Linked DNA regions of Homo sapiens: region 1 is linked to region 2. Evidence: promoter capture Hi-C in human tissues and cell types (Jung and others, 2019). All regions are on one chromosome and are shown on one strand. The core of a region is centred on a gene start or on the middle of the fragment in contact, and the rest is flanking DNA. Distances in the headings are between cores, read along the strand shown. Region 1 overlaps KRT85 (keratin 85). Region 2 holds the start of KRT3 (keratin 3).

Region 1 (7,180 bases), core at 3,762-6,261, 440 kb after region 2:
ACCTGAACATGGACTGCATCATCGCTGAGATCAAGGCTCAGTATGACGATGTTGCCAGCCGCAGCCGGGCCGAGGCTGAGTCCTGGTACCGTAGCAAGGTGAGTGGCACAGGACACCTGCCTGCTAAGCATGGCAGTGGGAGGGAAGTTAGGCATCTATTAGAAAAGATTTCTCTTGCCTGGGGATTCTGACCCATGAGGACAGTATGAGAAAAGCCAGTAGTTCTCAGGTTGAAGTGGCAGGGCAGGACTGCCATGTGTGGTTGCACAGGCTGAGCACCGTACAACCTGTATAGTCATCTGTGGTGTCCTGAATGGATGGGGGGCCCCACCCTGAGCCTCATGAGCATCTCTACTTCCTCCAGTGTGAGGAGATGAAGGCCACGGTGATCAGGCATGGGGAGACCCTGCGCCGCACCAAGGAGGAGATCAACGAGCTGAACCGCATGATCCAGAGGCTGACGGCCGAGATTGAGAATGCCAAGTGCCAGGTGGGGTCTGTGGAGGATTCAAATACGCAGCACAGGCAGGCTGCAGCACCTGGCCCTAATCAGGCTTCACAGTGTGCCCATGAGGAAGCAGGGACCCAGAGGGAAGGGAGGGGCTCTATCATATTTCACAGCAATCAGACCATGTCACTGACTTCCAAAGGAGGATCCAGCCCCTTCCTTGGCCACCCTGTGACCGCCATCAAGGAGAGATGATGAAAAGCCCACCCATCTCCTCCCTCATATTCACAGCCCCATTAACTACCTGGCCACGGGCCAACCTTCTCTCCAGGACCCTCCTCTCCCTGCCCTGGCTCCATCAGCTTGGGTGAGCCAAGCTGTGGCTTCTCTTTCTCATCCTGGCCCTTGTATCTCCACCTGATAGCGTGCCAAGCTGGAGGCTGCTGTGGCTGAGGCAGAGCAGCAGGGTGAGGCGGCCCTCAGCGATGCCCGCTGCAAGCTGGCTGAGCTGGAGGGCGCCCTGCAGAAGGCCAAGCAGGACATGGCCTGCCTGCTCAAGGAGTACCAGGAGGTGATGAACTCCAAGCTGGGCCTGGACATCGAGATCGCCACCTACAGGCGCCTGCTGGAGGGCGAGGAACACAGGTGGGGCTAAGAGGACTTTGTGGGGTTTCAGAGGTGGAGGCTGTGGTCCTCCAGGAGTGAATTTCCTTGAGCTGAGTGTGAGCTACAACTCTGGCCATGGCTAATACAATAGCTTCAATAATAATAATAATAATAACTGAATGCTTCTGTGCTAGACCTGTGCTAAGTGTTTATTTTATAATCCTCACAATCCAATAAGATAGATATGGTTTTTCCCATCTTTTTATCTTTAGATAAAGAAGCAGGCTCAGAATTCAGTGCCTTTATCATGGCTACGCAGTTAATAAGCAGAAGAGCTGGGACCTGCACCCAAGTCTCATGCCTCCCAAATCCGTCCTTGTTGAATAGCTTCCTACTGAAGCTGCTGCCACACAGGCCTGTGTGTTATGATGATGATGCACTTCTATATGCATTTAGCTCTTCATCAACCACAAAGCCCCTTCACACCCTGGTGTATCTGATTCAACTCTCCTTCCTGTGAGCTTGATTGGCACCATCCAGGCTGGCCACCATCACTCAAACTAGGGGCACTGTTCATAATCTTACCCACTGCTGCTGAAAATCAGAAAGCCTTGTCTTCATGGTTAAAACCATCAAAGAAAGAAAGCATTTAATGCAGATTTGAGGGAGCCCTTCTTGCCTTTCAGGGGTAGACTCTGTACACAGGATGACCCTCTCTGTCCCCAAGCAACCATCAGTCTCAAGGAATCCAACTCAGTGTCTGGAACTAACAGAGTTTTCTTTCTCCATAGGCTGTGTGAAGGTGTGGGCTCTGTGAATGTCTGTGAGTATCTGCCTGAAATTCTCCTGGAAAAATGGCTTTTTTGATAGAAAAGCTGAACTCATTGGCCTAACCCATGGAGCCTCGAGTGTTCCCCCAACTGTTTCACCCTCCCCTGGCTCCTCAGTGGGGGCCATGACAGGTGTTAGAGAAAGCTGAGCTGAGTGCTCTTCGCAAGTGTTGACAGTGAGCTATAGGCCATGGACCTGTGGCCTGGCAGCTTTGCTCCCCGGGGTCCAGGGGTCCTCACTTCCTTCCTGCCCCAGTTCCCTAGATGGGCTGTGCATCTCAGGGACAGGGCCTGCATTGTTGACCACCAATTCCTTGGAGAGGGAGGCAGCTCCTGCAGTGCCCTGGGGCCTGTTGTAGGGTGGGTGAGATTGCAGGGAGCTGCTCACCCCTCCATGTCTCCTCTCTCCACAGGTGTCAGCAGCTCCCGTGGTGGAGTCTCCTGTGGGGGCCTCTCCTACAGCACCACCCCAGGGCGCCAGATCACTTCTGGCCCCTCAGCCATAGGCGGCAGCATCACGGTGGTGGCCCCTGACTCCTGTGCCCCCTGCCAGCCTCGTTCCTCCAGCTTCAGCTGCGGGAGTAGCCGGTCGGTCCGCTTTGCCTAGTAGAGTCATGGAGCCAGGGCTTCCTGCCAAGCACCTGCCTGCCTGCATCACTGCACTGAATGGCATGTGAATGGAAAATGTGTGCTTGCTTCCAGAATCTTCTGGATGTTCCTACAGAGGGAAAGACCTACAGAGGGAAAGACCCTCGGGCCGCTCCCCTGCGCCTTTTCATGCTAGGGAGATGCATCCTAGTTGTCCTCCTGGCAGCTGTTTTCAGAGGCATTCCCAGCCCTTCACTTAACTCCTACTTAGCTCCAAAATACCTGTATCCAATTTGTATTATTCCCCCAGCTCTCAGGGACAAGACCAGTCCCCCAGCGTGGTGGTCAGCACGGAAGCTCCACCTTCTGGGTGGAGGCGCCATCCTAACCATCCAGCCAGGCCACCCACAACCCGAGAATCAGGGAGAAAGTCCCTCCCCAGCAGCCCCCTCCTCCTGGCTGGGAAGAATGGTCCCCCAGCAAGCACTTGCCTGTTCATTCCTGTTCATGTTTTGCTTCTCTCTCAGACTGCCTTCCTGCTTCTGGGCTAACCTGTTCCAGCCAGGCTCCTCATGTGACCTCGCAGTTGAGAAGCCCATTATCGTGGGGCATCCTTTTGCCTACAGCCCCTGGTTAGGGCACTTTGGACAGGTCTTGCTATTCAGTGAACCTTTGTACATTTCAAAGAAGACTCCATGGCTGCTCCAGATGCCCCCTTGCTGGGTGCAGGTGGGGACTGTCCAATGCAGAGCTGGCGGGACAGAGAGTTAAGCCACTTCCTGGGTCTCCTTCTTGTGACTGTCTATGGGTGCATTGCCTTCTGGGTTGTCTCGATCTGTGTTTCAATAAATGCCGCTGCAATGCAAGAGCGTGTGGTCTTGTGAGCAACTTCTCCACTCCCTTCTTGCCTCATCTCCAGATGACCAATCCCAGTCCAGCCCCATGCAGTGTTTCCCCAGTCACCCCCCAGAAACTCTGCTGCTTCCTGTCCACTTCCACAGTCTGATTCCACTCAGTCGCCCTCAGTCCCCTCAGGCCTGGACTACAGCCCAGCTCCCCACTAATGACCTCTTTCTCCCTGACCCACCCTGCGTACTCCCAGCAGCCAAAACTCCATCCCAAACTCACTGCTCTCACCCTCTCCTGCCTGGCTCAAGTCACTTCCTGGCACATGTGTGTGCTTCTTATGCCAAATGCAGGCTTCCTCTGTCACCTCCTTCCCCAGCTACTCCTCAGCCCTGTCCAACCCCTCCATGCGGTGCTCATCCTCCCAGTCATGGACTCCACCCCAAGGAGACAAGTCTACCCTCTGAGGCAGCCCAGAGACACTCTCTCCTACATACCCCTTGTGGACACATAGGCCATCCCACATCCCTCCTCCCATTTGCCTTTGCTCAGGGCCCTCCTCTGCTCCCCAAAGCTACCACCCTCACCCCTACACCCCCCAGCCCTCCCCCGCCCCCATCATATAGTGTCTGGAACCCTGAGAATCTCTGGTTTTGTCTCTGCGGATCTGGGCCAGGGATGTCAACGGGTGTGTCTGGATCAAGCTGGAAATTCCATAAGGACAGGAAGTATCTCCTCCTGGCTCTGACCTCCCACTGAGTCCCAGGATGGGGCTCCAAGATATGCCAGGCCTGGGATGTGCTGGATGAATGCAGGCAGCTGGTGCAGCAGGAGGTAGAGACATCCAGTCCTCTTGCCCTCAGCTCCATCTCCCCATTAGCTGTCACCGTCATCAAGCAGGTGTCTGCCAGCCCCCTGCTGCCCCATCCTGCAGCCTCTTTCTCTGAGAGGAGAAGATAGGGCCTTGTGCATCCTCACTTTAGGCCCAAAGGGCTGTAGCCCCACTGGAGGCTGCTGGCTGCTTCTGAGTGCTTAGGCTGCTGCTCTGTTTGAGGTTTGCTGGCTGACACCTGGCGGGCCTCCTCCAGGTCTCTTGCCTGCTGCCTCCTTTTTCCCAGCTGTTTGGGCCCTGAGGGCATGGTGACAATCACAATAGGCCAACTTTCAATTTAGGGGACATCATTCACCCACAGGAAACGTTAAATCCCAGGGGCTGAAACATCAGGAAATGGAAATTTGAGCCCCAATTCTGCCAAGACTGCCAGGTCTCGGTGAGTCCTTGGGCAGGAAGTGGCTTTCATGCTTTGCATGTCAGTCTGGGGTCTATGAGATGAGTGGGTAGAGTCCTTACCAGGTCTGCTGCCTCCTATGGTTCTGAGATGCTACAGAGAGTCTATGCTTGGGGAAAACAGCTTCATGTTACCATGGATCTGGGCTGAGCAAAACAAAAATGCCAAATCTGATACCCAAAAAATAACGGCACCATGGATTGAAAAGTCAAACAGCCAGAACCTGGGAGATAGGAATGAATTTTTTAATACATTTCCGTGCTTTGTGTGCAAATACCATTCAACAGATTCAGCTGGCCAGAGGTGCCTTTTGCTTATGGGGAGGTAAGCCTCTGCCCCAGCCCTCCTTGCAGCCAACAGCAAAAACCCACCACAGCAAGCTCTTCTGGCTCAAAGGATGCTGGGGCTCCTGCAGCTCTCTCCTGATCAAAGAACTATTCCCCTCGGAATGCAAAGGGTACAGTCCAAGGGTAACTAAGGATTAACATTTTATTAGAAAGAAAAAATTCTGAAGAAGTCAAGTGACCTGAAATTGAGAGATCGAGGAAAAGCCAGAAGTTCAAGAGGCCCAAACAATAAAGTGGGCCATGGGAGTGATCCCAGATCTCTGCCCTGGGCTCCTTCCTGCTTAGAAACATCACAAACCAAGCTAACACCAGCATCAGAGAAAATCAGACCTGCTGTCTGTATTCAATTCTTATGTAAATGTTAGTGATATCCTTCCCCACAAACACACAAAGCTTCCAGAGGATTAGAAGTATGGATAATAACCTGTTCAAAGAAACAGGTACGCTTGGGATTTGTCATCTTTTCCTTTCTCCTGAAACCACTAACACTCCACCACCAATTCTCAACCCACTCTGCTTCAACCCATCCTCACAAACACCTATGCCCAAGAGAGTTCCTTCCCCCAGCCCGTGTCTCTAACTGTTCCCTGCTTCAATCTTTGGGATCTCAGAAAATAGAATTTTGTGTTACTACTCACATTAGCCAAGCATAGTGAGGAACACAAATTAACCATATTATCAAGAAAATTACCAAGTATGTTCTGTGTAGACACGGACATGACCATGTGGGACTTAATGTCCCCTTGTCTGGGTTATTCACACTCCTGTCTCTCTCTGGGAACATGAGCATTAGGAAGTGACTGTACTAAGTGTTTTGCTCATTGAGGATCAGAGCAACAACGACATGGGCACTAAGCGCCACACTCCTTGGGTGTAGGGACATGCCAGGCAGAACAAGCAATGGGAGAGGCTTATTTCACAGAGCCTCAGGCCACCTTCCTGCCTCCCCCAACCCCCAACCCCCAACCTGTGCATGCCTGGAAATCCCTGCTCATTTCCGCTTTGTTCAAAAACCGAGGGCTCCCCCATGTTGGCAGGGGAGCAGCCAGGGAGTGGGGTGAGGCGGGGACAGCATGATAAGCTTACGCATTAAAAATGAAGAAAATACCCAAGGCATTCATAGACAAATAGCCACCCTCCACCACCATCAAAAGGAAACACAGACCCTTCCCCAGTCCACAGTCCCATGCCCCAGGGCAGCCAATGCCCCCTGAGACACCGTTTCCTCCTCAGAGTCACTCTGGTGACCCTTTTAACCTGGCTTTACTGCTGCTCAAACTTGGTGGGATCCGGACTGTGATGGGCAGGCCCCTGCAAGACCCTTTGGTCCGGGAGACAGAGACAAGGGAAGCACCACCCTACTAAGATAGACCTCTGTCCGCCCAGGTCAAGTCACTGCCTGGCCATTGTGGTCACTGAAACAGAGTCTGAAGACATCAGAAGAACTGCGTGGCCGAGGAGAACCATTCAAAGGCTCTTCTCTGTTATGTCGCCCGTGCAGTGCTGGCCCTCTGGATGCGAGAGACTCGGGATGGGAAGGCGAGTCACCGTCCAGGCCAGCAGGACTTCCTCAGCCTCGGTGGTCCGCAGGCCACCTGGGTGGGGACAGTTTACAGTGTAACAAGGGGCCTGCAGGTCCTCCCTGCAGGTCCCCACTTTGGCCCCGTCTCCCGTTGAGGCCACCGTTGTCCCCCATCTCCCCACCCACGAGAGTCAGGGGCCACACCCCTCCTACCCCCACCCTCGCTTTGCTCACGGGTCGCCCCGTGCCCTGCCCTGCCTGCCTGCCCACCGTCACGTCCAGCCACCGGGTATCCTGGGCCCATCTCCAGATGCACGGCGCGGGCCCTGCTGGAGCCCGCGGGATCAGATCCACAGGGGCCTTGGGTCCTTGGCTCACGCAAGGTTCGCGCCTCGGCGCCTCTGGACTGGTTCCTGAGTCTTCTGCCGTCCGCCGGGATCCCGCCGCCTGCGCCTCTCTCAAACGCGCCCGCCCTCCACGCCTGGGCCCCGGCTGCCCTCCTTCACCCCTGCCCGAGACGCCCCGCGTCCCGCCCTTAGCCTCTAACCCCAGTGGTGAGGGGCCTAGGGGCTGGGCGCCGGGAGGGACGGGAGGGCGAGCTGGGCGCCACCTGCCCGCCGTTTTGGGGTAGTGGGCAGGGTGTTTGGGGGTTATTGGCTGCTCAGGGCTGCCCCGTGACATGCCCATAGCACCGTGGCCGGGGT
Region 2 (6,624 bases), core at 1,621-4,120:
CTTCCACCATCTGCTGGGGAGGTCCCCGACCCAGGACTAGCTGATGACAGCAGTGGTTGTGATGTTGCTTCTCAAAGATTCTTCTCCAAGATAATTCCCTCTAAAGGAATGACAAGCATGGCTCAGAATCAGTGGGCTCTGGCAATGACTAAGATCTCCCCCCATTGGGGCACTAAGTACCCTGAATCACTATGGGTTTAGGAATTCCTAGAGACTCATTGCCCTGGACTCTAGACCCCACACCAGACCAAGCAGCAGCCTCATTTCTGTCTGGCATAAAGGCAGGTCCTCCATCCTGCTCTCTTAGATATTATAAGGAAAAATATGGTCTAATTTTTGTGATATGTTTCCTTTTTTCTTTTTCTTTTGTTGAGAAGGGTCTTGTTCTGTTGTCCAGGCTGGAGTGCCATGGTGCAATCATAGCTCAGTGCAGCCTTGACCTCCCAGGATCAAGTGATCCTCCGACCTTAGCCTCCCAAGCACCTGGGTCTACAGGCACATGACACCACACCCGGCTAATCTTTGTATTTTTTTCATAGAGATGGTGTTTTGCCATGTTTCCAAGGCTGGTCTGAAACTCCTGGGCTCAAGCAATCTGCCCACCTCAGCCTTGCAAAGTATTGGGGTTACAGGCGTGAGCCACCACATTTGGCCTTGTGATATGTTTCTTAAAACACTGGCAGATATTTCATTCATCTAGCTATGTTCCTGTGAGATCTAGAGGGTCAGAGATGATTGATCATCTTTTATGGTTAATGATGCTGAAATGCAGAGAATTTAAATAGCTTTGGTCATGCTTAGTCATGGGGAGGATCTGGTCTAGCCCTGGGTTTGGTTCATTGCCTTTGAGGGAGCAAAGAGGAGAGGAGCCTGTGTGGCCACACTCTAGGCCTGGGCTAACTTCACAGTCCATGGGCAGAACTTGCAGAAAATTAGGGATATAAGTCAGAGATGCTGGAGAGGGGATCCCAGCAATGAACGGGGCAGATTGTGTGACCTCAAATGTCCAGTCAACTTCAACTTGATTCTGTAATTGATTGATTCTTGATTGATTAGTTCTTGATTCTGTGATTCTACATTTTTTTCCCCTGAGGAGGTGACACTCATTTTGCATGTAAATTTTTCTAAATCTGAACACCAAATTTGAGAAGTCTGGATTCCTCACATTGAAATAATCTCAATTAGCTTGTGCTACCTCATGCAATGGGAGTTGAACTAGCTTTCAACCAGTTTTATCTGGTTGTAATCCAGTATAAGGGCTTAACCATTAGTCATTAATAATTAATTGATGGACTAATTCATTTTTTCAACAAACCAAACTTTATGGCACTTACTATTGGCAAAGCACTGTGCTTTGGTTCAAGGCACCCAGTATATTAACAAGACTGGAAACTCCTGGAGAGCTTATGGTTTTATCCTGGGGAGGAGCTAGGATGTTGCACAGCCTGGCAGGTAACACATGGGAGAGATAAGGATAAAATGGAAGAACCAGGCCACTGAAGAAAATTGTACTTCCTTTGCACTTGGGCCACTCCCAGCCCTACCCAGTGGGTGTTGAAGAAGTCTCTATCCTTTCCCCCAATTCTAAGGAGGCTCCTGCCAGGGCCATACAGACCACACCCTTAGAAGGGCCCAATGTGCAGCAGACAGAACAAAAAAGGCCTGTCCTGGAGAGATAAGCAGCTAACTTGGCCAGCTCCAGAGTGTGCAGGATGGCTTTCTTTTGGACAAACCAAGCCCAGTCATAAGCCTCTGAACAACCCCAGACAGGGAGAGTTTCAGGCTTTCGGAGTCAGACATATTCCATAGTGCTGCCGGCTCTGCCAGATCTGGCTTTCTGGGGTTTGTGAGGGGGCATGGGCGACTCTCAGGAGCACATCTCTCAAACAGAAAATGGTCCCACAGGGGCCCTGTGTGTCTTGTCCATGACTGGGTCTCCAGAGTTTTGCAAAGGGCCTGGCACACATTTGGCAGTCTGTAAATATTTGCTGAATTTGTTGTTGACTTGACATTTGAATTTCTTGTTCCCTAGGCCTTAAGCTAAAACCAGAGAAAGGCCAAAATGTGGGGAGCAAGAAAGGAAGCCATAGATAAACCCCAAGATGTGTAATAGTGTATAATTTCTCTGGGAAGTTTTAAAGAGAAACAAACATTAGGCATGTTGGATTTTGCCAGTGTCTGCTCAACATACATAGGTGTTAACTTGACTTTTTCTCCAAAGATAGTCATAAACCAAAAGGTCACTACCTCCTGAACTAAAGCTTGGGGTACAGGGAGAACCCAGGAGGCAGATTTGTGATAGTTCTGGGCTTTTTTCCAAGAAGGGAGAAGGAGAGGTCAGCGCTTCATCCCAAAGGCCAGCGTAGAGCTGGGCACATACTGTGCACTCAGTCATTGTGGAGAGACCTGCATCACTCCTTCCATTAAGATACTTTCCCAGAGCTGTGAGTGGGCTCCACTGTCTCCACTACTCAGAGAAGCAGAACCTCCCCACACCTCCTCCACTCTATCCTCTCCAGAGCTGGGCACCGCTCTGCAGGGCCCAGGTGCAGCTAATAGGCAGAGGGATGGCTGCTGAGCACCTGATGCAGGTGAGCGTGCCTCCTGGGTCCTGTCAGACAGAGCTAGGAGGAGGCCATGCCCAAACATGGGGCAACACCAGGCACCACCCCCTCACCAGGTAAGCCTGCCACCTTAGCACTTTTACCATTTCAGCTTATTTTCAAGGTGTGTTTGGTAGCCTGGAACAAACTTATTGCCTTGGAGGCAAACCCAGCCCATGAATATTTGGGATTAATTATCTCTCCTTCGTTTGAGCCCAACAACCTCCTCAAATGTATATAAAGGGATTTATTTTGCACAGGTCTTCATTTCCCATCCCTCTTCCTCTGACTCTCAGTGTCCCTGCTTAACTTACACTCTTCTCTTCGCCAAGCTCCTTACCATGAGCAGACAAGCCAGCAAGACATCTGGTGGCGGGAGCCAGGGTTTCTCCGGCCGCTCTGCTGTGGTCTCCGGCAGCAGCAGGATGAGCTGTGTGGCCCACTCTGGGGGAGCTGGCGGAGGGGCCTATGGCTTCCGGAGCGGAGCAGGTGGCTTTGGCAGTCGCAGCCTCTACAACCTGGGCGGCAACAAGAGCATCTCCATCAGCGTGGCAGCTGGCGGCTCCCGGGCTGGAGGCTTTGGGGGAGGGCGGAGCAGCTGTGCCTTTGCAGGTGGCTATGGAGGTGGCTTTGGGAGCGGCTATGGAGGTGGCTTTGGTGGTGGCTTTGGTGGTGGCAGAGGAATGGGAGGTGGCTTTGGTGGAGCTGGTGGCTTTGGAGGGGCTGGTGGCTTTGGAGGGGCTGGTGGCTTTGGTGGTCCTGGTGGCTTTGGTGGGTCTGGTGGCTTTGGTGGGCCTGGCAGCTTGGGCAGTCCTGGTGGCTTTGGCCCTGGGGGCTTTCCTGGGGGAATTCAGGAAGTGACTATCAACCAGAGTCTCCTGCAGCCCCTCAATGTGGAGATCGACCCCCAGATTGGGCAAGTAAAGGCCCAGGAGCGGGAACAGATCAAGACCCTCAACAACAAGTTTGCCTCCTTCATTGACAAGGTAATGAAGCTTTGACTGGTCATCCCTTCCTGGGCTGGGGACTTTGAATTTGACCTTTGGGACACAGTGTTTAAATGTTTCTTGGATAGGCCAGACTGGAGGGTGAGGAGTTAGGTGGAACTCTAGGGTCTGGGAAGATATCCAGGGTTGAGGAGTTTGTCTACATGGTCAAGTGAGGGGAGGTGTAGAAAGAAAACAGTCCCCTATTTGGACCTGAGCACCACACATCCTGTTTGTGGGAACCCCTGCTGAAGTTTCCAGTCATTGCCTCATTGAGGCCCAGGCTGGCAGGGCAGGCAGCCCAAGGCAAGGGCCACAGCCACCATCAGCGAAGGGTCCACCAAGAATGGGAGGCTTTTCAAATACAAGCTGCCCTCTGAGGCTTTCCAGGAAGCCCTTTCCCCCTCATATTGCTGTGCCAGGCAGAGGAGGCTGATTACCTGGAGCAGGGATTAAGAGCATAAGAACCTTAGTTAGTCCCAAGGGAGCGCAGAGAAATGAGTGACTTTGCACTCCTACTCAGCCTAGTCAGGAAGACAAGAGTGCTCGGTGAGCTTCTCCAGACCAGGACAGTTCTCATGGGGCTGCCTCCCCTCCAGGCCCAAGAGAGGTGTTGTCATGCTAACTGTGGCATGCCAGCCAGTGTTGCTTCCCAGCTTCCCAGCATCACTTCACTGTTTTTGAAGAGCTAGCATGTCAGTAGAGTCGTGGGTGGAAATGGTGCTGCTGAGGTTTATGTGCATTTTTGTAGAGTGTACTGTGGTTTTGGAAGTTAAGATAGGGTCATGAAGTTCCCAGGAACAACAAGCAATAATTCTATTGCTTTCAGGTAGGAGCTACTTCCCCTTCCTTTGTAACTTTCCAAACCACGCTGCAAGTGTAGTGTCCTGACTCATCACCCATCTGATCATAATCTCTCTGACTACAGTAGGAGCCTATCTTTGCATCTTTTCTAGGCCTTTGTGCTGGGGGCCCAGGAGATAGACACCTAGTCCTACCTGAGTGAAGGCCCCTCTGCTCCTCTGCTACAAGTGTTGCCTGATGTTGCTTCCTGCAACCATTGCAGGTGCGGTTCCTGGAGCAACAGAACAAAGTCCTGGAGACCAAGTGGAACCTGCTCCAGCAGCAGGGCACAAGTTCCATCTCAGGCACAAACAACCTTGAGCCTCTTTTTGAGAATCACATCAACTACCTGCGGAGCTACCTGGACAACATCCTCGGGGAGAGAGGGCGCCTGGACTCTGAGCTGAAGAACATGGAGGACCTGGTGGAAGACTTCAAGAAGAAGTGAGTGACAGGGCAGGAGTGGGAAGATGCCATGGCCCACCCTGTCTCAGAGTCTTGGCCCCTTCTACATGCCCCCTGACTGCTGGGCAGTGGCGTCTCCTGGCCCATTTCCCTCTCCTTACCTTCATGAAGGACAGCTTGGTTCATTCAGTTCCCCCTCACCTTCCTTCTCCAAGCATGGTGCTTTGCAAATAAAATTGTGGCAAGAGGATGAGTTTAGGCTGGGCTTGGTGGCTCATGCCTGTAATCCCAGCACTTTGGGAGGCCGAGGTGGACAGATCATTTGAGGTCAGGAGTTCAAGACCAGCCTGGCCAACATGGCGAAATATCATCTCTACTAAAAATACAAAAATTAGCTGGGTGTGGTGGCACACACCTGTAATCCAAGATAGTCGGGTGGCTGAGGAAACAGAATTTCTTGAACCCTGGAAATGGAGGTTGCAGTGAGTCAAGATTGTACCACTGCACTCCAGCCTCGGTGACAGAGCGAGACTATGTCTAAAAAAAAAACAAAAACAAAAAACGGATGAGTTTAGAGTTGGGGAAGCATTTCCTCATGAGCCAGGTTGGGGAAGATCCTGGTTCTGGCATGTGAAAGATTCTGGGACAACTCATGGTATGGTGATCAACCATCCAGAGGTTTGCCTGGGACTGAGGGGTTTCCTGGGATGCAGAAATTTTAGTGCTAAAACCAGACAGTTTGCCTGGGCAAATTGACTTGGTTGGTCCCCCAACTAACAGGGAGATAGTAAAGAGGATGTGCTCATCTGAGAGGGGCAGGATAGGGATGGAGGGAGGGAAGAGATGAACTTTCAGAGTTCCAGGGAACAATGGTGTTTACGATGACCTCAAAACCAAACTCAGCTGTTTCTTTTTTATTCACACAGATATGAGGATGAAATCAATAAACGTACAGCTGCTGAGAATGAATTTGTGACTCTGAAGAAGGTAAGGGCTGTGTGTGAGGTTTCTGAGGCTTGCAGCTGCAGGTTTCTGGCTGGGTTGGGGGAATCTCCTCACTCCACTGCCACAGAGCTGCCAAGTTCAGGCCTTTGGAGCAATAAACAGAAGTCAGGTGCACCTTAGTCTGGAAGATCCCTAAAAGAGTTAGTTCATCAGTCTTTAGTTTTTTAGTAGGATTAAACTTAGACCATCCTAATGAGATACAAATTGCCCGTTCAAGTGGAGACTGGTCTTAGACAAGGACCATCACTGCACCAGTCCCCTCTGCTCTTTCTTGCTGCAGTTGTGGTTTGCTGTTTGTTCATTGGGAGAATAAGGCCTTTATCTTCCTCTTTTCTCAGGATGTGGACAGTGCCTATATGAACAAGGTGGAGCTTCAGGCCAAAGTGGATGCCTTGATAGATGAGATCGACTTCTTAAGGACCCTCTACGACGCTGTAAGGATGTTACCTACTAAGAAGGGACAGAGGGAGAGTGAGGTGTTTCCAGATTTGAGGCTGGTGCATTTTGGTATATAGGCCCCAGAAGACATCTGGAATGAGCCTGGAGATGAGGACCCTTGGAAGGGATTCCACAGGATAAGCTGCAGACATGGGGTTCTCTGAGTGGCTGCGGACAGGGTGTGGCTGATACACATGTGGAGCAAGGAATCAGTGAATGAGACTGTTGATCAAGAGTCTTTCAGGGCCCTGTGTGCTTGTTACAGGGACCCCAAAAGTGAACAAGCTCCCTCTGTGTTGACAGGAGCTATCTCAGATGCAGAGCCACATCAGTGACACATCTGT

What was found. Contacts are between HindIII fragments. The study calls those that stand out against the background at their distance.
Region 1: a fragment that was not itself captured here is called in contact with the fragment with the promoter of KRT3 in region 2 in 2 of the 25 tissues and cell types used here (mesenchymal stem cells and thymus).

Annotation. Positions count from the first base shown.
Region 1 is chr12:52,356,164-52,363,343 of GRCh38, reverse strand. KRT85 (keratin 85) reads left to right here. Exons shown (of 9, transcript NM_002283.4): 5 at 1-98; 6 at 365-490; 7 at 873-1,093; 8 at 1,846-1,877; 9 at 2,298-3,338. The coding sequence ends at 2,491. Among named protein-coding and RNA genes, the nearest start is that of KRT85, 7.7 kb to the left of the region's middle. The HindIII fragment of the contact is 6,815 bases long and covers 1,604-7,180 here.
Region 2 is chr12:52,792,363-52,798,986 of GRCh38, reverse strand. KRT3 (keratin 3) reads left to right here and starts at 2,870. Exons shown (of 9, transcript NM_057088.3): 1 at 2,870-3,589; 2 at 4,656-4,876; 3 at 5,764-5,824; 4 at 6,181-6,276; 5 at 6,584-6,624. The coding sequence starts at 2,945. The HindIII fragment of the contact is 6,438 bases long and covers 1-5,797 here.